Regions from separate parts of the Homo sapiens genome. Here regions 1, 3, 4 and 5 are each linked to region 2. The links are contacts of gene promoters, found by promoter capture Hi-C in blood cells and fetal thymus (Javierre and others, 2016). All regions are on one chromosome and are shown on one strand. The core of a region is centred on a gene start or on the middle of the fragment in contact, and the rest is flanking DNA. Distances in the headings are between cores, read along the strand shown.

Region 1 (4,766 bases), core at 1,265-3,764, 2.2 Mb before region 2:
TCCTTTCCATCTCAGTTTACTCTTTTTTAAAAAAAAAACAAACCAATATGCTACCTGAAACTAGAAACACATTTTTAATTCTGCAGCTCTCCTAACAGATTATTTTGCTTTAGTACAGAGCTGGGCTGCAGGCTGAGTTGGGAGTTGGTAAAGGATTGAGGACAGCAATGTAGGTCGCCTCTTCCTACAGGAAAAAATTGAGGAACGTTGTGTATTACTGGTTAAAAGATTGATTAGGATTATTTCAAGGGATGGTTGAGTTGTCGTTTTACTTATTTCACCCAATATTTTGTGTCTCTACTTAAGCAGTGTTGTTTTAAATGTTACTGGATAATTGTAACATAATCAAATTAAATTTTATATTTAACTGATACCCAAGCATTTGATGAAAACATGTTGCAGGAATGGGAGAGTATTCCATAGCTTTTGTTTTATTGTGATTTGATTAAATGTGACAACTAATAGTTTAAAGACAGGACTTCACTGTTTTAGCTGATTTCCTGTAGAAAGTGTGGCTAAGTTTAATTGAAAGAAATGTCTTCTTACTAGAACTGATTTTGGGGGACTTTATCCACTCTTACTTGGAACACTAACTGTTGGCTTATAAGGGTTCAAAAAGGAAGCAACAGTTGCTTATTTGGCATGTTGAAATATCACTGGCTATTTTAGAGTATGAAGCAAACTTTATCAATATGTTTTCTTTTCCCTCCTTACACACAATGTAGACTGATAGAAAATTAGTTTTAGTTCTTCTAGAATTTATATAAATTTTGTAAGCTCCACCCAACACACACACACACACACACACACACACACACACACACACCTGCCCCACTTACAAAAGTCTATATTAGCCTTTTAAAACAAAAATTTCCTGCGTGAAATTCTGGCTTAGTTAACTTTTTGGTCTTTCTCTCGGGGCTTTTCTTGTTCTTATAAAATACTGTAAATTACAAATGGAAATTTAATGCAGAATTAAATTTCTAGTGTACAATATTTGTAAGACAAGAAGAAAATTTCCTTTTCCCAGATCTCAGGAACTACCTTGTTCCTGTTAACTTCTTGAACTGGCTAGTTGCTCAAAGGTATGTATACAGGCCTTTAGGGAAGAGCAGTTTTTAAAATTTTCCTTTCTGATCATTATATACCTGTCAGATGACAATAGATAATCTTCCAAAGTTGCTACTTAAAAATCCTAGGAAAGAAACTTTGGTGAACATGACTGCCATTCCCATTAATTGCTAATGAAAAACATCAAACTTGCTTAGTAGAAAAACACCTAATTTGGTATAACTTTCTTGCAGTTTATCCATATTATGTGCTTGTTACTTAATGTAATTAAAAGCATTTTAAAATTCTACTTTTTTCGTATCCACTTTTTATACTTGCTACTTCCTAAATCCTCCCTCACTGTTTATTTCATCCATCTACTCATTTCCCATCATCCAAAGTTAGCCTCTCCTTGTATACCAGGCACTGTCTGATTTCCATGTATTCCTTTTATTTTTACTGTGGGCCTTTGTGCTTAGTATACTTTTACTTCATATAATGTGATTAACAAATGAAGTGATTATCATATGGAGTTTAAGGAAATTAGATGTATCTTGCAATTACTTTGAAATCTTTGGGAAACCTTAAGAAGATTGTATCTGTTTTCATTTTTATTTACAACATCTTGGAATTTGTTCATGATTTCCTAAAATTTCTTTGCCTACCCACATCTCTGTGAAAATTTTCCATATCAGTTAAGTAGTTTTCGCAATGAAAATTTTAGACCATAGATATGTTGTATGCTGTGATCTTTTGCAGCCTAATGTTTGAAGGGAGTATGATGCAGAGAGGTTTTGGTAAAATCATTTTAGCCCAAAGCTTTGTGTAATTTTCCTGCAACTTTGATTTTGATTTCTTTCTCAAATAGACTTTTTTAATGTTTAGAAAAGTTGGAGGTCAATTTATGATGTGATTCAAGTTTTAGATTTATTTGCTATTTTCAAAGTTTTTTTTAATAGTCTTCTCTTTTTCCAGCAGAGAGAGATCATCATTGCCTGAATTTAGCTTTGTGACTGCAAGAGCAAGACCAGTTCCTGTCTGGAGACGACTGTTACAATAATATCATCCTATTATTTTATGTTCACTCTTTATCAATTTGAACAGATGTTTACATGTACTATAATTAGCATTTTATCTCTACAGTTCTCTAAGAGTACATCTGAGTCCAAAGTGTATCTGAATGTGTGCTCTGACCTTATTCTTAAATGTTTTCTCCCCATACTTTATAGCCATTTATTTTTTAAACACCTTAAGAAGGAACGAAAAAGTTCTCTTGGATGACGTATATTCAAGTCTGAGCCAAATTGAGGATTGTGTCTAGGAAATCTGTAAAGCCATACTACTGTGTTCATTAGCATGAGCAATTTAAAATGAAAATGAATTAAAAAGTTAAACATGAGTTTGGTTTTAATTTTGGGGGGATCTTAAGATATATTTCTGGGAGTAGGATAGCCACTGAAAATAATTTTGAATAGATGATAAAGTACTTTTTTATGTACTGTAATAGCTTGTGCATTTCTTCTGAATATACTTTCTGATGTTGCCAAGGTCATTTACCCAAATATTTTTTTAAAAATTCTTAGCCCTTCAAAACCAACAAAGAAAATAATTTTCTTCCAAGTGACAAATGATGATCTGTGGATTATAAATATTTTAAAAATTATATGTCTTAACATAATTTTTTCACATTTTTTTGACTTTCAATCAAGACATCGAAGACGACCTTTAAAGCAAGAGGAAATAGTGTTGTGTGCCTAACATTGGTAAAGACTAGTTTTTAACCATTTTAAGAAGTGTATGTCCAAATTATTTATAAGCAGTATGACTTAATATGGCTTAGAATTACTTATAAAGAATCTGATTAAATCTCATCCTAAATATGTAGCCACAATATCTTTTTTATAATGGGACTATAAGAAATGTTTGCACTTAGTTTCTGAGTATTCCTTCATAGATTCTCAGGAGGCATTTAAAAAGTTGGAAGCTATACTTGGTAGTAACTATATTAGAAAAGTCCAATTGACACTGATTTTTATTCACCCTTGTTTTATTTTTATCCAGCCATACTACCTTTATCACTTTTTTTTTTTTTTTTGGTGCAAAGCTTAACATTCTGCAAACTTTTTTTCCCCTTGAGTATGCATTGCATTTGTCATGAAGAGTAAAAAGAATGTAATAAACACATCAGTCATAATGTAAATTAACTGTTTTGATCCACATTGGTTGGATACAGCATGGTTAATTCTAGGCTTGGTTAAAAATACATAATTTGGAAAGTCTTCTAATATTTTAAAGACCTAGTAGTTTACAAGGCCTTTTTTTGTTGTTGTTGTTAGACTTTTGGTTCACATTTACAAACTAGCCACAGGGTGTTCATAAATATTTCCCCAAATTAGTTGAGTATTTTTAATTGTAAACAAAGAATTTTCTGCCCCTACTACACTGGTTTACTGCTAGGGTAAAGACCATTGTCTGAAGACACTAAACTTGGTGTTAACAGTGTTGATTGTTTAATGGATATGGACTACATGCCACTACCTGCAACTTTGTCATCCTGGAGTTTTTGTTTGGTTTGGTTTGATTTTTCACTTTTTGCTTTTAAAATTAAAAACAAAGCAAAACAAAATTGAAGATACCATTGAGAATCAGAATTCAAGATGACTTGATTCTCACTAAGATCACTGCGCTTTTTTAAAATTGCTTTGAGATCTAGTCAGTTACATATTTAAAATCCCCGTGTTGATTAGAGATAAGGTTTTCATTATTTTATTTTCCTAAATAGGATTCTCATGGAGCTATTGTAGATAACTGTACAGAATCACTTTTGTGTAATTGAATGAAGCAGTTTCCTCTGCATGATTGCATAATGAAAGCCTTTTATATATCTATATTTTTCAATACTTAGATTTTACACTATTAAGCTGCTCTAGTCATGCTATATTTGTTTTTTTAATAGAGTTTATAAATATTTATGCTCAAAATACAGATCAACTGAATATTTTTGGTCTTGTTTACAAGATAAATCATACTTTAAAATGATACAGGCCCCTCAAGTGTCTTAGGAAAAAGTCATTGGTGCTATAAAACCTTTCAGTATCATTTTTGAACCCATTGTTCAGACTTTGCTAGGTTTTAATCTGATTCCTTGTGATTTATTATAATGTAGCAGCATACTTATAAAAGTGGTCTGTGCTGAGTCAGATAGAGAGCCCAGCCCATTAGAAACACATCATAATTTAAGAATATGATGCAGAATGCCCTTACACTTATTTGTGCCCAGCTTCCCAAAAAGAAAATTGTTTTGTTAAGAGGAAGGCAGTTAATTTGGCTAGAATCCAAAAACTCATTCAGCATGGCTGTTTTCCCTTATTTCAAATGAAAAACTTTTCTAATACTAAAATATGTAATCCTGCTTTGCTTTAAATTCCCATGTCTGTCACTCAACAGGAGGCATAGTGATTCTTAAATATTTACGGAACATTTGGTGAGTTGTAAAGAGAAGTATTATTGCATTGTAGGTTTTTGCATTGATGTGTCGATTTTTTTGTTTTGTCCCAAGATTTCCTTCCAGCACCTTAATGAATGTTCATATGATAGAATGTTTTAAGTATCAGCAAAGCATTCATGGATGCCTGCTTTTCATTCTCAGAAGGCTAAACCTGTTTTGGGTATGATGCTACTTCAGAACATATTGTCTGGCACAAGATTTCTTCTAA
Region 2 (4,548 bases), core at 1,447-3,946:
AATAGAAATTGCCAGTGGGAGGGCATCTAGGTGGCTGGGCTGTAGAGACAGGGAGACTTTTTATGGTATTTTTTTATACCTCTTGAATATTTTATTATGATGTGTGTTATCTACTCAAAATAATAAAAAGTTATTCCATAGTTAATATTATTAATGGAGCCATCTGAGGGTTGTAATGAGAAATGAAATTCAACCCCTACTTCTCTTTCCTAGCTGTGGTCCATTTGCGTAGAAAGGAGCTTTTTTTTCTAATTCACATAAAAATGCTGTATGAGTTAGTGACCACCCCAACTTCTAAACATATGTTATTTTTTATACATAAACATACACACAAAACATACCTACATATATGTATGTGTATATATCCATACACATACATATATATGCACACACACTACACATACACATGCATACACATGTGGATTCACCCTACAGGTATCTTTGTGAGTACACTAGAATTGATACATTTATTCATTTGCATGCTGATTTTGCTTGTGACTAAACTTACAGCTTTTTTCCCTAAAATAATACAAGCATAATTAGTTAAAATTACTGTATCTTTCTGGGTACAATTTGGTTTTGTTGTTTGTATTTCTGTTACATGACCATTTTTTAAGTATACATAATAGTCTTTTGTGAAGAGGATTCCTTCCAGCACACAAACTGATAAACTTGTTTCAATTTCTGCCTTAGGAGAAAGATACAAGAGTATGTGAACATCCACTCTCAGACATAGTGATTGCCGGGGAAGCTGCTCATCCTTTACCACACACCTTTCACCGCTTGCTGCAGACCATCTCAGACCTTATGATGTCTCTCCCCAGCGGCAGTTCATTACAGCAAATGGCCCTGAGGTAATTTTGGTATCCACATATCCTAGGTACATTGGACAAGAGAGTTTATGGAATATTCAAAGTATGAAATGCTCCAAAAAAAGCTCTTTAAATAGTAAGATAGAATCCCTACATTATATAGATGGTGCCTCCCTCCTTACAGTCATAATTTTTAGAATGGTCCTTCCTCTTAGTTAACATTTGTTTGCCCTCCTGTAAAATGTGGCTAATGTAATTCTTAGTGCCCTAAATTATCACTGTAGCAATCTCCCTCACTTTCCCCAGTCTCCTACCTCAAATCACTTAAATGTCCCAAAAAGAGAGAGGGAAAATGAAATCTCAAAAACAAAAACCAAAATAGAGTTTTGACTTGAAAAGAATCTTGGGGAAAACAGAGCCTGGTTGTATGCACCCAGTCCTAAAAGCACCTTAAGGAGCATCACAGATGCTCAACAGATTCCAATTTCAATTTGAAATGTGTTGAGAATTTAGCATTGCTTTTACACTGTGAACCTTGTTACTAGATTCACATACTGGACTCACACTTATAAATAAATTCTCCTAATTAATGTATACAAGAAATAGATTGATGGAATGCTTGGGCTTCCCATGTTACTAATGATAAGACCAGTGGAAGAGAGATTTCTCTTTGTCCTCCTCACAAGATTTTTGAACTACAAGATAAACTATACCCTGATGAATTAGTATGGCATTGTAAGAGTAATAAATTTGAGGGGTTGTTGCAGTTGGTGTACCACTTGTTTACACAATAGATTCATTACCCTTTTTGCTTCTGTAGCCTTGATCTTCATCTGTCTAATTCTTTTATATTTAAAATGGGTCAACTTTCCTTAGAATTTACCTTGTTCCAAAGAAGTTACCTTTATTTCTCAAAAACAAAAACAATAGGAATGATTTTCTTCCCTGAATTTTTAAAATGTCTGTTACTAGAACATTAAAATTTCTTGAGATATTAGCTACAGAGTACTCATCTAAGAGTTCCTTAGATGTTCCTGGAAAATAATTATTTCGTATATTGCTTATATATCGCCTTTTTAGGTGCTGGAGTCTCAAATTCAAGCAATCTGATCACCAGTTCCTTCATCAGAGCAACGTCTTTCATCACATTAACAATATTTTGTCAAAGTCAGATGATGGCGATAGTGAAGAGAGTTTTAGCATCAGTATACAGTCTGGCTTTGAAGCTATGAGTCAGGTCAGTCATTTCAGTTATTATCCTGGTTGTCCTGTTAGTTAATAATACATCAAAGGAGAAACTGTAAGTTATTCATAATCAATTTGATCCTGTCTTCCATTATGTTTTATCTTATACCTGTTTGTTTTATCATCACGAAAGATTTGCTTTTAAGTATCATAAGTACTTATATTTGTTTCTGATAGGAATTATGCATAGTAATGTGCTTAAAGGACTTAACCAGCATTGTTGACATAAAAACTTCAAGCCGACCTGCCATGATTGGCAGTTTGACAGACGGCTCCACAGAAACCTTTTGGGAATCAGGAGATGAAGATAAAAACAAAACTAAGAACATCACCATCAACTGTGTAAAAGGAATCAATGCCCGCTATGTGTCTGTTCACGTGGACAATTCCCGAGATCTTGGGGTAAGAAAGCAAACGTGATTTACGGCTCTTTAGCTCTTTTCAGATCTTAGTATTCATGCACTTTCATTTCTGAATTTAGCAACAAGCTTTATCACCTGGAATTTCACCAACCAAACATCATTGCTATAATCCCCAAATAAATCTTAAGTCTAAAAACAAATTAATATGATTGGGAGCACTGTGGAATTCCATTTCTGAAAAGAGGTCTGATTACAAATATACCATGGCTACAGCTAAGCAAAATGAAAGTCTGCTCTACAATTTTCTGCTGCCATTCCCTTGGTTAAGATTTTCCCGTGACCTGGAAGTCCTCCCCTTAAACTCTGCTGATCAATTCTTCCAGGGTCTCTCAAACTCAGCAGAGAAATTCTAAGTAACTCCTCTAAAAAATTACTCTTTCCCTCTGCTGATTCTTTTTGTATTACTCTGGTGGCACTTAATAATAATCTTTGACCTATAGTGTAATCAGCTTTTTTTTTTTTTTCTGAGATGGAGTCTCCCTCTGTCACCCAGGCTGGAGTGCAGTGGCACAATCTTGGCTCACTGCAACCTTCGCCTCCAGGTTCAAACGATTCTCCTGCTTCAACCTCCTGAGTAGCTGGGATTACAAGCACACGCCACCATGCTTGGCTAATTTTTGTATTTTTAGTAGAGACAGGGTTTCACCATGTTGTCCAGGCCGGTCTCAAACCCCTGGCCTCAAGTGATCTGCCCACCTCAGCCTCCCAAAGTGCTAGGATTACAGACATGAGCCACTGCACCCAGCCTATCTTCAAGTGTCTACTTTGCCACAGTCCTCATGAAATAAAAAATAAGTTTCAGACTGTCCCAAATAATCATAATTTATATTCTCTTCAGCCTAGTTCATCCATGTGTTTCAACTGAATTAAATATTCTTTTATAAAAGGCACTAAACAAGAAAAAAGAGTCCTATTTGCTTGAGTATTAACAACCAAGAAAGAAATAGCACTAACTGCCAGACTGCCTTTCTTCTACCTCATTTAGAATTTTTTTCCTCAGAATGGATGTGGCTTGCTAGCAGATACAGTATTAATGGCTCTCCTTGAACCATTGCCTGGCTTCTCCTGTGCCATTTGCATATTTCCTTTCTCAGGAAGAGCCACAGTGGTAGGATTGGGTCTCAGATAACCTGGATGCAGGCCAGTCTGCAATCAGAGCAACCTCCAACTCCTGTACATCAGTGCAGGTTCTATTCCTCCCTGGTATTGAGTAAGTAAAAGAGGCTTAGCTAATATAATATGAGCTATTTCCTCCTCAGACCTAAGAATTTCCACTGGTGTAACTACTTTATCTTACTGGAAAGTCAAGTGTAACAAAGCAAAACATTTTTGTAGCTAGAACTCACTGTTCAGTGCAAAGCTATCTTTGGCTCATGGTACATTTTAAGCAAGGACATACTCTCCCTCAGAACAATGATTGCAATCAATTTAACACTTCTGTCTTTTCTAAGAGGAAATAATCATAACAGTATTCATTTTCAAAATTCCCAACATGTAAGCTGACATCTACTTTCCTTTTAACAGGCTTCCTCTATGTTATAGGTTGAGCATTCCAAATCTGAAAATCCAAAATGCTACAGAATCTGAAACTTTTTGAACACAGATATGACACTTAAAGGAAATGCATATTGGAGCATTTCTGGTTTTAGATATTCAGATTTGGGGTGCCCAGCCAGTAAGGATAATGCAAATAGAGTATTTCAAAATCCTAAAAAATCCCTAATCCAAAACACTTCTAGTCCCAAATATTTCTAATAAAGGATACTCAACCTGTATGTATGTTTTCCTTGAGTTATGTACCTCCATGTTCCTCAACCTGCCTACCACAGAGCCTTGTACACAGCATTTGTTGATTTGAGTTGTATCAGCCTACAGCACTCATATTATGCAGCTCTCCAAGGAATTAATGTTAATCTATTTCTTGATGTGCTTTGCGTAAAACTTATTCAGCCTTAAGATATTTGACACTAGTTTGAACATGTATTGAACTTGTACTGTTTGACATTTATTTTGTGTATTAATGTTGCCTTCCCTAGTTTGGCAAGTATCTTGGGGGATAGAACCTCCTC
Region 3 (4,566 bases), core at 8-2,507, 2.3 Mb before region 2:
TTAGGGGTGATTATAGGCATTTTTTTTTATCATAGTTCATTATTTAGTAATCCCTTAACGATTGTTAGGGTGCTTGGCAGGTTAATAAAGTGTGTCTTATTTGTAATTATATTTATTTGTAATTATTTCTAGTTTGGCAAGTCAGCTGTTAGATGAAAAAACTGAAGCTTAGTTTGCTTAGTCTTAAGATTCATGACCGGAAAAGTGTCCATAATAATTTCTCATTTTTAAAGATAAATTTTGGCATGACTGTGGTAACCGTATCAGAAAATTTTGGTAGCAATGTTAGAGAAAGACTTAGAAGTGAATCTCTAACATATATAACCACACAGCATTAGCCAGACCTTTTAAAGAAATATGAGAAAAAGGTTAAAGGCTTAATCGACTCAGCCAAATTTATCCAACAGGATGATAGAACTAGGTTTTTTGTATTTCTAGTTTTAGTGCTATTTCTTTTGGATAATTTTGCCTTTTTGGTTTTAAAAGAAAATGTTCACTAGCCTCTGCTCTCTCATTTTAGTAACCAGAGGGATGGGTTACCTGAGATCTGTTGTTAACTAGACAGAATGTGAGTAATGGAGTGGGGGTGGCCTCTAGAACCAGTCTTTTCTCAGATAACTCAATTCTTCCTCAACTATGAATAGGAATTAAAAAAAAAAAAACCCTAAATATGAAGGTTAGTCATGGGTTACCATATTGCAGATACACCTTTTTTTTTTTTTTTTTTTTAAAGAGAGAGTTCTGTGGCTTGATGTATAACCATAATTATAACCACAACTATCTGGGCTTAATTTGTCATTTGGGCTGCTGCTGTTTGCACTGAACAGTACAAACTTTTACTTTGGTTTTGTTATCTGACTATTGGGTCTTTGACACTTAATGGGCACTTCTTTTTTTTTTTTTATTTAATTTAGAAGTTATGTAACTTCTAAAGCTATGGTTCTCAAGTGTGATATCAGGATTCCTGGAATTTCCTGAGAGCCTTTCATGGTGTCTATGAGGTCCTTGTTTTTCCAACTATGTATCTGTGTCAGGTCAGGTTTTCTTCATGTACTTCAACCAGTATAACATGTCATAACAGACTGAATGTAAAAACAGATGTAAGAATCGGCCTGTCTTCTATTAAGCCAAACAAAGGTATTTGCAAAAAGTGTAAAACTTGGTCACTCTTCTCAGAAAATTTGTATTTTATTTTGGAAAAATAGTTTTTGTGTTTTTTTTTTTAATTTTAAAAATATGGTATTTAATTTCAGGTGAGGCTATTTATCATAGAGCTCTGCCTATCCCTGACCTGCAGTGGGGATATGACCTAAATGGGGAAGATGAGTCATTTTCAGAGGCCAGTACGGATGCTGGGGGAGAGAAGAGTAGCCTCCTTTTTCTGGTTTCACTAGCTGTTAGAATAATGTAAGCTGGGAACTGCTTGGGGGCCATCATTTTTGCCACACATAGAGAGCATTTCTGAAAGTGAAAAATGCAGAATAGAGAGTCCTGGTGATATGATTTGAACTCCTGGATTCAGAAAAAAAGCCAGCCCCACATATGGGCTTCCTGTTTGTTTGCACATAAATTCTTCTTCTGATTACTCAAACAAATATAGAGAGTTTTTATGCTAGTTTTAATGGATTTATTATATCAAACTAAACTAAATTTTTTCTCAATTTTAATTCTTGATAAATATTGATATAACTCTTTTAAATAAAAAGCTGTTTGGAGTGGTTCCTATTTTTAAAGCATAGAGGGCTCCTGATACCAAAAAGTTTGAGAACCACTGTTCTAAAAGTAAGATGGAATCATGCTATTTCTTGGAATGATGTGGGGGAATAAAAGAACTGGCCAATAGTTTTCAGTGTTATAATTACATGTATTGTGATACATTTTGCAGTGATGAAGAAGTATTAATAGATTGTGTGATGCTCAAGGATGGATCATATTTAGATATGCTTATATTTTGATTTTATTTTGTAGAATGAACTGGGTGTATAATAACTCTTAATGAGTAGTCTTTGCTGTAACTAATTACTGTATATAAGTAATCTATTTTTGCTTTCTTGTTTGAATTAAGTGAAGCATGTAATAAACTACAATTAAAATTTTCAATGTATGTATTATGCTTGCTGCAATGAAATTTGGATTTTTAAAAGAGTAATTCTAAGTACAGAATATAAAATCATGACTTTGATGCAAATTAGATATTTTTCCTGAATATAAAATGAAAATTTGGAAAGAACAGACGTGGGTGCATATCCGTGTTCTAAAGTTACTCAGTTAACATATTTAAATTTAATTTTTAATTCCCACTACCACCTCCAGCTTCTTTTCAAGATTACTGAACATGGAAGCTTGGGTTAAATTCCGTGAGTTATATTCTACTGAATTTCTAAAGTCTCCAAGAAACTCGTGCAAAACAAACTTTTTGAAATATTGTATTGGAGTATTATAGCTTTCTTTACGGTCTCATTACTGTTTTGAAAATCTGAAAAACTAAAACACACTATGGGTGTGTTGGGGGATTAGTACAACCTTTATTTCCAGAGGTGATTTGTTTCTTGTTAAGAATATTTAGTTTTTAAAGATATTTTATTATAACATTTGATTTTCTGTATTAATTTGGCTTCTGTAACTTTAGTGTGTGTACTTCCCTCTCCACCCCAGATATAGTTGGAAGAGAATGACCTTCTTAGATGGTCACTTCTATGCTTTTAAAGGGTATGCATGAAGCTGGAAGTCTCCAACTGAACTGTTTTTAAAAACAAAGATGCCAGCTGGGCACTATTGCTCTCACCTGTAAATCCCAACACTTTGGGAGGCCGAGGAAGAAGGATCACTTGAGGCCAGGAGTTCGAAACCAGCCTGGTCAACAGAGCAAGACCCTATTTGTACACCCAAACAAAAATTAGCCAGGTGTAGTTGTGTGCACCTGTAGTCCTAGCTACTGGGGAGGCAGCGGTGGGAGGATCTCTTGGCAGGAGTTCAAGGTTTCAATGAACCATGATTGCACCACCGCCCTCCAGCCTGGGTAACAGCAAGACTTTGTCTCTAAAAAAATGAAATGAAAAGAAAAAAAAAAAAAAAACTTTATTAGCTGTATCCTTAACACAGTATATTCAGGAATTGACAAAGTTTTATTTTTATGCCTTTAAAATCATTGATGTGAATGACTTCATAGTGATTTGGAAATTTAATTTGCCAAAGCTCACTGAAGCAGTTAATTTGAAATCCTTGGAGAATTAAAATTGGAAACCCCAGTGTTCGTGAATGCTCACTTTGCTCCATTTCACTGGACTCCTGTCCCTCATATGTGTCAAGAAGGTCAAGTAGGCCTTAGGCTCTTTCTGATGGGTTCCCTTGGCCTGGGCTTTTTAAAATTTTTTCTTTTCCGGATAGCCATAAAGCATATTTGCATTCCATTTCCATTCCTATCTAAATTCAGATCCCTGTTTAAATGTCCCTTCAACAGAGTCCTTCCTTGATGATCTTAAATAATACTTGTTTTATCTTTTCTGTTTTCTTTCTCCTTACCTTTCTTCCTTTCTCCTCCTTTACACTTTATCTTTTCAACCTGGATTTTTCCTCAGAGCACGTGTCTACATGACAATACATACTATAAACGTATGTTTGTGTAATATGCATATTGGTTCCCCCCACCCCCCAATGTAAATTCCGTGGCAACAGTGATGTTTCTAAAAGTTGTATTTTCAGGATCTAGAACAGTGACAGAGTAGGTGCTTTTAAAATTTTCTTGAATAATGAATGCGATATTTGGACGATAATCACTAAACCCAACATACTTATTTTCTTATTTTATTCATCAAACTTTATATGAAGATGAAAGATTCCCTGACAGAAATGAGCCATTGATCTAGTGAGACATATATTTGTATGTATATTCTCTCTCTTAGTAACTATTAATATGTTTCAGATCTTTTGTAGTGTGTATTTTATCTACAGTGTAATTTTTAAAAAATGCTTTTCTATTACTAATATATGTAGATCAGTAATTGAACAGACTAATGTGTTATTTTATATTTCATATATTTGCACAGTATCTTATGAACAGATTTAAACCTAATGATTTTACTCATTGATACTTGTGTGGGATTTACTATCCAGTCCAGTGCTTATTTGCCAAGAGCTGTTCAGCCTATGCTTGAAACCATTCTAATGAAGGAGAACCCTCAGGCAGTTTATTCTGCCTTTGGGAGGCCTCTGATTATTTTAAAAAAAAAAAGCCTATCTCTATTTTAAGCCAAAACCTGTTTGGCTGCTTCTGCTTACTGGCTTTAGTTACATTCCTTGGAGGATATATTGGACAAATGTAATCCTTTTTCCTTGTGATAACTTTTCAATTATTTGAAGACTTACCAAGTTCTCTCTGACATTTCAGTTCTCTAGGCTGAGAATCCCTAGAAAACCATCTAATAATGATATCCATTTACCATCTTGGTCATTTTCTAAGAATCTGTTTGAGTTTGTTTATGCATTTATAAAGGTGGAACCTAGAACTGAAAGCACTAACACTCTACTGCATAGGAGAGCAGCACTCTTTCCTGTCTAGTTCTCAGT
Region 4 (4,551 bases), core at 121-2,620, 2.3 Mb before region 2:
ATACATATTTAGTCACCAAGTGGAATGTCAAATTGTGCTGTCGTGAGATACCAGGGATTCTCCTTTCTTTCTTTTTCATAGTAGATAGGGCCACTCCACTACCCATTATTCTTTTTTTTCAGCTGACCCAAAACAGGATCTGCTTTGGCAGAATGAGTGGTGAGGGATAAGGTACAAGCAGTTCTAATGTCTGCCCATCTTAGCCATTCCTCATCTACTGCTTCCTGGTCTCATCAGGTTGAACTCTAAAAGAAGTGTCCCTAGTTCAGCATAGCCCCAACTAGACTTCTATGACTTTTTGCCTAAGACATGGTCTATACCTCTAACTTTGAGGGTACTCTTAGTAAAGTTACCTTAAACTATCAATCTTGAATTGTCTTTCCAAGGACTGACCGGAATATCTGCAACCTTGTCTTTCATTTGGGTTTCAAAGATTAAAAAAAAAGGAAAATGGGAGTGAGGTGTAGGGGATTCATAGGAGCCTTTTTTGCCCTGTGTGTTCTTTCTTCAGGAATTGTAGAGAAGACAGTGTCACTGTTTTGTCCTTGCCATTGTTCCAGGGATGAAATAGTTTTCCAAATGAAAGCAATGAAAGAGTGAGATGCTTTTCAGAAGTTTTAAGTTGATTTCAACTTAAATAAGTTTTGAAAAAACCTCTACATTTATTTATCCTCTTTGTAGTGAATGTTCTCTGCCAGCACAGTGGTACATTGCTTACCTGGTAGAAGTTGCCCTTGGGGCATTGTAACCATAAGACTATGGGTCTGATAAGTCATTCAACTGGAGCCTTGAAAAAATCTAGTTTTGGGGGTAGAGGTAGGGGGTAGTATATTATTTTATAAAATAGGAATTCCTGATCTTAGGGTGTTCTCTTTTTAAAGCTAGCTTTGAATAATCATTTCTTTAATGTTCTTTTGTGAAAGTAAAAAGTAATTTAAAATTGATGAGATTTTAAAACTCATAAGCTTGTATGTGTGTATGTTATATTGAAAAAGGTAGATCTTTGATTAAATGTTCTCTCCAGGGTATTGTTAAGTGCAAGTTTAGAGTAAGCTTCCTTTCAGTGGTGGCTTCAGTTGATAATTTTTAGTCTCTTGCTAGATAGGTAGTTTTATGTTTTATGTATTTTCTAGGGAATAGTGGTATTATAAAATAATGATAGTTGTTACTGTACAAATGGTTCAGATATTGCCAAATTTGTGGATTTATTAAGAACTTTAAATATGTACTACTTCCCTTGCTTGCTTATATGGCTGAGAAAAAATTAAAACCTCTTCTTAAATAATTTTTGGAAATTTTGCTCGCGGAAAGACTTTTGACACGTACCTTCTTTCTTGGGTCTTGCTTTTTGTACCTTAGGCGTGTATACAATGTATTTTTCAAAATTAATAACAATAAAAAATACCAGGGATTAATGTATAAGGAAGACTTTAGCACTGAATTACATGAAGGTTGAATAAGTGACAGAATAACTAAGGCCAAGTTAGGTCTAATGAGAATTACCTATTTAGAGGAAATAGCTTTAGTTGGATTTACTTAATAGACTAAAAAGAGTAATGACCACTGCTATGATAAATGTTTAGATTTTTAGTTACAAAAGTTGTTAAAGCATAAGCATATCCTTAAGCCAGAAAGTTTCTTAAAATTTTGTAATGTTGAAAAGAATAGAAAATTAAGTTGAAGCTTATCTTATACAAGCAGGATACATATAGAGCAGTGGTCTTCAAACTTTTGGATTTCAGGGAACAGTAAAGTTTAGGAATTTAAAAATTTGTGTGTTTGTCATAGAGGTATCAACTTTTTATTTTGCCAGGGAAGAATACTTTAAAAATACAAAAAGATTGTCATGTTCTATCACCATTGTTATATAAAATAAAGGAAATTTTAACACTGAAAATGTAGGAGAACATGAACTCGCAGTAAAGGATAGGCCTTCCCAAGAAAAAACTGTCAGCCCTTGCCAATGTTTACTGTCAAACATTACATTGTTCTTGTTTTCTGGACCATTATCCTAGATGACTGAATGAATTTATTTTCTATAATCAATAGATGCATAGTATTTCAAGATGAAAGTACAAGAATAAATAAGGTAATTGAGACATTCAGATATAACTGAAAAGTGAGAAGTTTTCCTCAGGAAAAATATTGAAGCATTTTAAAGACCATCAGTATAAGCAGAACACTGTTAGCTTTAGGTTAAGATGGTTTATGGTTTGACTCTGCCTTGTTACCTAGAAGATGGTTCCTATTACCTTATTTTCTATTTTTTTGTCTATCACCATGCCAAAGTACTAAAGTTGGATAAGTACTCAGACAAGAGTAAAGCAGTCGTCTCTTCCATGACTGATTTGAATATTATCTTTTCTGCACTGAATTGTTACTGTACCTTTGTAGGAGCCCAAGATCCTGTTCAGAATAGGAATAATTAAGTTGCTGTTTTAGAAGAATCAGAACAAAAATGAAACCTATAGTCCCAAACTCACAGAGGTACAATTTTTTTTTTTTTTTGAGGCGGAGTCTCGCTGTGTTGCCCAGGCTGGAGTGCAGTGGTGTGATCTCAGCTCACTGCAAGCTCCGCCTCTCTTGGCTTCATGCCATTCTCCTGCCTCAGCCTCCCGAGTAGCTGGGACTAGAGGTGCCTGCCACCACGCCCAGTTAATTTTTTTTTTTTTTTTTTTTGTATTTTTAGTAGAGACAGGGTTTCACCATGTTAGCCAGGATGGTCTCGATCTCCTGACCTCGTGATCCACCTGCCTCAGCATCCCAAAGTGCTGGGGTTACAGGCATGAGCCACTGTGCCTGGCTGCGAGGTACAATTTTTTATATCAAAAGGAAAGAGGGGCCAGGCGCAGTGGCTCACACCTGTAATCCCACCACTTTGGGAGGCCAAGTGGGGTGGATCTCTTGAGTCCAGGAGTTCGAGACCAGCCTGGGCAACATGGAGAAACCCCATCTCTACCAAAAAATCAGCCAGGTGTGGTGGCGTGCACCTGCAGTCCCAGCTGTTTGCGAGGCTAAGGTGGGAGGATCACCTGAGCCCAGGAGGCAGAGGTTGCAGCGAGCTGAGATCATGCCACTGTGCTTCAGCCTGGGCGACAGAGCCAGACCCTATCTTAGCAAAAAATAGGGGGAAAGAGAATCATGTTTTACTAAATGGATTCAACCAAAAGAAGTCAAATTATGTGCATAGCAGAGTGTGTGTGTGTATGTGTGTGTGTTTTTACTGATACTTAATAGTTATTAAGTGCTGCTATGTGATGGGCACTGTGCTACCAGAATTAGTAACTTGAGGTCTGAAGCTTGTGGGAAAGTAGCCATGTGCATTGAACTCAAGAGTTAAAGAATTGGAAGTCTTTCTTTGTAACTTCTAAAAATTAGATTTTGCATGTTTTTAAAAATGTGTGGTCATATATATTATATAATTATATGTATTTGTGTTCATAACTCGTGCTTTAACATTCTATAACATTACAAATATTACTAAACTTGCTTTTAGCCTTCTTTTATATATTAGTTATATTATCGTTACTAAAAACGTAAGGAACCATAGGATTGCAGTTTACTTTTCGGTAATTATCTGTATTTCAAGTCAGTTTTCTCTGTAGTTTTTGCAAAACACTGTTTCTGCAAGAGATCCCCTAACAAAAGATTCTCTTGTCAGATAAGTTTGTGAAAGGCTGCATTTTTATATTCCATTTAGAACTGTAGTCTAAATGGACTAAGTCCAGAGGTAAACAAACCTGTTTAATTTTGTTTCACCCAACATTTTTCCAAACTTAATTGTTTCCAGAACATTTTCCACGTAAGATGTGGAATCCACAATTACTTTTCATAGTTTTTTCCTCCTTTGTTAGATCTTTAACCTTTGTGCTTTCTGTTATGTATATGCCATTCCTTAATTTGCTGTAAGCTTTGAATGAATGTGTGTAAGAATAAATAGTCAAAAGACTAGAGACAAGCCTCTGAATAAACTATTTCAGCTTTAAAACTCAAATTTTGTGTACATTTTATAGTATAGAAATTAGAATTATAAAATGTATTCACATATGCACATCATTGAGCTTCAACAGTTATCGACTTAGGGCCAATCTTATTTCATCTATATTTCACTCGCTACAACTTGCCCACTCCTTATTTTGGAGCTATTCACAGTCACTGTATCATTTCATCTGTAAACATTTTAGATGATAGAACCTTAAATGATGGAACCAGTTTCTAGAGGTTTGATTCCTTCCTTTTTCATTTAGGTTTTAACGTAGGTTGGCTCTTCGAATGATAGAGCCTTAAAAAAATACAGTACTACTATCACACCTAAAAATTATATTCCTAAATATCAAATATCCAGTCAGGGTTGACATTTGTCTAATTTCTTGTAAATTTACTTTTTAAAAATAAGGATCTAGATAAGGTTCATATTTTGATATAGCTTGATTGGTGTTATGCAGTCATAAATTCATATATAAACATTTTATGGGTACAAATCCATTGCTCTCAGTTATTAATGTTGAAGTTATTCCATCTTTGGCCAGGAGACTACAGGTTGGCTCCTGA
Region 5 (4,844 bases), core at 1,963-4,462, 2.3 Mb before region 2:
TTTTATGCTGTGAACAATCCTTGGTTACTATTTCTTCTGGAGTAAAAGTAGACTGTGGTCTACTAATCCAGATACCAAGAAGTATAAATACAGAATCTTACTTGGAAGGACCAGTATTTCACTTACTGGGGAATTTTACTCTATGAAGCAACAGATTCCTTTGGAAATTCACTGTTCTTAATATTTTAAATCTTAGGTTGCTTATAATGGTGATCCTGAAGGTGCCCTAATCCAATTTGCAACATACGAAGAAGCAAAGAAAGCAATATCAAGTACGGAAGCAGTATTAAACAATCGCTTTATTAAGGTTTATTGGCACAGAGAAGGAAGCACCCAACAGTTACAAACTACTTCTCCAAAGGTAAGAGAGGAATTTGTGTAAAAGTACGCGCATTTCTTAGAAAGCTCTTAGCATAGCGTTTACGAGTAGAGGCATTGGAATCAAGTAGGCCTGAGTTCATACCCTGGTTCTGCATTTAGCTTCTGTTACCTGTAAAGACTTGAAAAATTTACTCAACCTTTCTAACCTGTTCTCTCATAATTGTGATGTTAATTGCTAGTTGAAAGAACAGCATGGTGTATGTGAGACATATGGAATAGTCCGTGGCAGATAGGAGTACTCAGCTATGTATATTCCAGAAATTTAGACTGTAGGTTCATCTTAGAGATTCTCTCTTCTTTCCCCTCTCCCCTTTCTCCCTCCTTTTTGTCCCAACCCCCATCGGTGTGTAATGTTAGAGTGTTTATAGAGGTATATTACAACAGTATGGGTTTTGATTGTTAGAAGATATTGAAAGTTGGACTTTAATTTATTCCAGTAAATAAGTTATTTTATGCAAAGAAAACATCTTTGTATATGTGTGGATGAAATTAGAAGGCAGTTAGGTTTTGACTATAAGCTGCATTTTAAAAACTTTCTCTGCATGGGCAATGTAGTAACAAAATAACACAGGTCACTTTCCATCCTTTTGAATGAATCAACTTGTTTAACATTTTTTCCTTGTTCTGAGGTAATGCAGCCTTTAGTCCAGCAGCCCATTTTGCCTGTTGTGAAGCAGTCAGTCAAAGAGCGGCTGGGTCCAGTACCTTCAAGTACTATTGAACCTGCAGAAGCCCAGAGTGCCTCTTCAGACCTTCCTCAGGTAAAGCAAAGGTCTTACGATTGTGCCCGTAATAGGTTCTCAGTAATTTAGTTTCCCTTGGTGATTTGAATTATAGTTAATTGTATATATTTTACATAGAAATATGATAGTCTTTACATATTTGAACCCCACCTATAAGGTTGTTTTTTTTTTTTTAATTTTTACCATTACCATAACATTTTCTCAGTCTCTACTTTTCCTATAGTATTTAAATCTTAAATTCCTCTCTCCAGTTAATATTTATGAGAAAGATTTCTCTCTCACTTTGTGGAGGAGATACATGTCAGCAAAACTGCCCGAAGAGTGAAGTTGAGTACATTAAATCTTATTTTTTCCATCATCTTTTTACTTAATTAGAATTCTGTTCCGGAGATAATTGTGTAGTAGACTGAACTAAACTAAAAGCTTATGGTAAGGGAAGGCTTAAACCATCAAGTTAAGCATGCTTGATATTATACTGTTTTAAGTACTTAGACTGCTCTCTCATAACTTTGCATCACTTATTCCTGACTCTGGGATTCTTTTCTCCATATATCATTTCCTTCCCACTTCCTTCAACACTTGAGTGGCAGTTTCTTGTTTCTACATTCTCAGTCTCTGAAACTTAGCTTTCCTTTGTCTCCCGATGTTTCAGCATTTGCTGTGTAAAATAGAGTTAGGATGTAGTGTCCTACTTAGCTAGTGGATGCCACCTTATTAAAGTAGTCTTCCTAGATAATTCCTGAAGAGTAAGATGCTGAATTTCTGCAAGGACATGCAGAATGTCTATTGGTAAATTATTAGTTAATTTAAAAAATTCCCAGTCCTATCATCCCAAATTATCACCAAATACAGTATATTTGGATATAAAATAAACATACTTTAGAAGAAGTTGGCACTATTTTTAAGCTCAGTAAGTGGGCATATATTTTAATTTTTAAAATTTGAGATTTTCTCCTAATTTATTCTGTGTCAGTGGCAGGGACTTTAGCAACCACGTGGCTCAGACCTCTTAGTTTACATCATTTTTCATGATTGAATAATATTGCATACTGTTTATTTTTGTTTTCCCACATATTTTCTTTCTGTCTCTTTTAAGAAGGACCAAGTTTTTGTGGTTAGTATTGGTATACTCATAGACTCTGTATATATTAGTAGAATCAGAATGTTCAAGATCCCAACAGACTTTTATATGTTTGGGGAAACACTGAATATGTCCATTTTAATTTTTTTAGAATGTAACTAAGTTATCTGTGAAGGACAGGTTGGGTTTTGTATCAAAGCCATCTGTTTCAGCAACTGAAAAGGTAAGAAGAATAGCATGATGTGTTTGTCTTGGCTTCATAAATGTTTTCAGGTGGCATCTTAATTTTTAATTTTTTTTCATAGTTCTAAACTCTTGCTTCTTAATAGTATCTGTATCTTTTCCTACCTTTTGGTTTCCATTTGCTGAAAAAGAAAAATATTTTCCTTTTTTTACTTTTGCATCAGCATTTTAATACTTGCCTCCCACTATATTTCCATGTACTCCATTCCTTTTCTTTGTTTTATTCTTTTTATTTACTTTGTTTTCTTTAGAGATACTGTGCATTTTGATTTGACAACTCTGGCAGCCTAATAGAAAGGGCCATGATTAGGAATTTCACCTGAGTTTGAGCCCTGGCTCTTCACTTACTAACTGCATGACGTTGGGCAGTGTTCTTAATTTTTCTGAATCTTTTTACTCATCGGTAAAATGGTGATGGTAATATTTATCTTGCTCATGGGGTTTTCTGAAGATCAAATAAAATCATTTATTTACAAATATTTTTGTAAACTGGAAAGGATGATGTAAATGTAAGTTTTTCACTTATTACTAAACAGTAATAGAGGTAGCATAGCAATACATATAGTCATTTCTTTTTTTTTAAATGAAGGGGGGTAAATATTTATTAAATCAAGACCATTTATGGATATATCTTATAGTTCTGTGTAGATGTTATTTTTTTTTTTTGTTTAGGTATGAGTAAATACTTTGTCTTTGATTTTATTTGAGGCATATGAAATCACAGAATGTGAGAATTAAATAATCTTTCTTAGTTCTATATGCTTATCTTAAAGTCAAGGCCCAAACAGTGTTATGATTTCATCTGTATACTGTGAGTCACTGAGCCAGAACTAGAATTTGGGGCTCCTATTTTTAGTCCATGGCTCTTTTCAGTCTGAAGATTGGGAATCAATTTCAGAGATAATGCATCAGTGAGATAGCTGCCCTGCTGTCTTCACTATATTCTTCAGTATATTATTTTCTTTATTTACAATGTTAAACTTTGGCAGTTTTAGGTATTTGAATCTGAGTTTGTGTATCAGACTTTGCTCTTGGGCATCTCAGCATTACTTCGGGCATAATGTGCCTAAAATGAATTCATTATTTCCTATATAAATTAATTTATCCTAGCCCTTAGCTCAGAAAGTGATAACACCATTTTCTAAGCTGTGTGATCCAAAAGCCTTACAATCATTTGCTTGTGTTTGTAGACCACTTCTTTTTCTGCCACCTTCAGTTCCCTAGCCTCTGGGTGCAGTGTCTTAACTGGCATCCTGGAATTCCCCTCGTCTAGTTTATACTGTCACCATCTTACACTCAGACTTATTTTGGCGTTAATTCATTATAGAAACTTTGAGTTTCTCAGCTAAATTACTTTCCTTGATTCACAGCTCATCGATAACTCAATAATTCTGGTTCTATTACTTCTGCTCTAGTCTTTTTACCCAAGGGAGTACTTTTCTGCTCGTTTTCCTTTGGCCTTTCCTGACTTTTATTATTTTATTTTATTTTTTTGGTGGTGATTTTTCTGGAGTGCATTTCCCCCCCCGCCGCCCCAACTAAATTCCAGTCATTATTTAAAGAGTGAAAGTCTCTCTAACATCTCCCATGAAACCTCCAGATTTTTCTGTTATCCCCACCTCCTCCTTGGAATTTCTGTGCTGCTTAGTCTGTGCTACTAAATTTAGCAGTATCAAATACTTACTTGGATTAGGTTTATCCTCGTTGAAAATAAGTATTTCAGAAAAAAGAAACACTGGAAGTGTTTGAGGTGATAGATTTTGATTATTACATAATGTATATATGTATCAAAACATCACACTGTACCCCATAAATATGTACAGTTCTGTCAATTAAATGTAAAATAAAATTTAACACTAAGTTCAGCTGTACTTAGTGTACTACTGAGAAATTCTAGAGACATCTAAAATGCTCAGTTATATTTGGAGTCTGTAATGTCAGATTTGGACTTTTGAAATTGAAGTGTGTACTCATAGCTTTTATAAAATTTTTGCAGTGTATTGTGAGTACAAATTTGTAGTTGATAATATAACTTTACTAATGCATAGACTAATATATATACCCATATATTATGCTAATGCAATAAACTACTAACTGAATTTTTATGGGAAAAAAATCATTTATGGTAGCAAGCTATTTATGGGGAAAAATATTTTTGATAAATACCGTAAACAGCCTATTAAGGAAAACAGTAAGTATGTAACTTTTATTCATCTTCAGTGAGTGTCTTTACAGAGAAACATTTTATTTTTGCTTATTTTTGTTGTTTCTGTTCCCCTAATCCTTAGGGGGTTTGGGTCCAAAATACTTACAGGGCAGTGATTCAAAGAAGTCTTAGAAAGAATAGAAGAATGTTCCCCATCATCAAATATTAGTTGAAAGATTCTTTTTTTAAA

Evidence for each region. The method cuts DNA at HindIII sites, captures the fragments that hold promoters and counts their contacts. A CHiCAGO score of 5 or more calls a contact.
Region 1: a contact is called between a fragment that was not itself captured here and the fragment with the promoter of MYCBP2-AS2 in region 2, in 1 of 17 cell types (total B cells). The highest score is 5.0, in total B cells.
Region 3: a fragment that was not itself captured here is called in contact with the fragment with the promoter of MYCBP2-AS2 in region 2 in 4 of 17 cell types (monocytes, total B cells, naive B cells and 1 more); the score reaches 10.7 in monocytes.
Region 4: a contact is called between a fragment that was not itself captured here and the fragment with the promoter of MYCBP2-AS2 in region 2, in 7 of 17 cell types (total B cells, naive B cells, monocytes and 4 more). The highest score is 22.3, in total B cells.
Region 5: a fragment that was not itself captured here is called in contact with the fragment with the promoter of MYCBP2-AS2 in region 2 in 4 of 17 cell types (monocytes, naive B cells, total B cells and 1 more); the score reaches 11.2 in monocytes.

Annotation. Positions count from the first base shown.
Region 1 is chr13:79,312,253-79,317,018 of GRCh38, reverse strand. It overlaps a transcript of RBM26 not described here. Among named protein-coding and RNA genes, the nearest start is that of RBM26, 92 kb to the left of the region's middle. The HindIII fragment of the contact is 1,285 bases long and covers 1,872-3,156 here.
Region 2 is chr13:77,079,338-77,083,885 of GRCh38, reverse strand. It overlaps MYCBP2-AS2 (MYCBP2 antisense RNA 2), which reads left to right and starts at 2,696. Exons shown (of 2, transcript NR_170173.1): 1 at 2,696-2,972; 2 at 3,225-3,375. It overlaps MYCBP2 (MYC binding protein 2), which reads left to right. Exons shown (of 83, transcript NM_015057.5): 63 at 694-854; 64 at 1,893-2,049; 65 at 2,235-2,459. It overlaps MYCBP2-AS1 (MYCBP2 antisense RNA 1), which reads right to left. Exons shown (of 4, transcript NR_046716.1): 3 at 774-876. The HindIII fragment of the contact is 5,615 bases long and covers 2,548-4,548 here.
Region 3 is chr13:79,382,755-79,387,320 of GRCh38, reverse strand. All of the region lies in intron 1 of RBM26 (RNA binding motif protein 26), which reads left to right. Among named protein-coding and RNA genes, the nearest start is that of RBM26, 21 kb to the left of the region's middle. The HindIII fragment of the contact is 2,175 bases long and covers 170-2,344 here.
Region 4 is chr13:79,329,593-79,334,143 of GRCh38, reverse strand. The region is part of intron 20 of RBM26 (RNA binding motif protein 26); the gene reads left to right. Among named protein-coding and RNA genes, the nearest start is that of RBM26, 74 kb to the left of the region's middle. RefSeq lists enhancers at 2,472-2,972, 2,973-3,473. The HindIII fragment of the contact is 630 bases long and covers 1,056-1,685 here.
Region 5 is chr13:79,350,737-79,355,580 of GRCh38, reverse strand. RBM26 (RNA binding motif protein 26) reads left to right here. Exons shown (of 22, transcript NM_001366735.2): 12 at 197-361; 13 at 1,011-1,142; 14 at 2,357-2,428. Among named protein-coding and RNA genes, the nearest start is that of RBM26, 53 kb to the left of the region's middle. The HindIII fragment of the contact is 3,325 bases long and covers 1,550-4,844 here.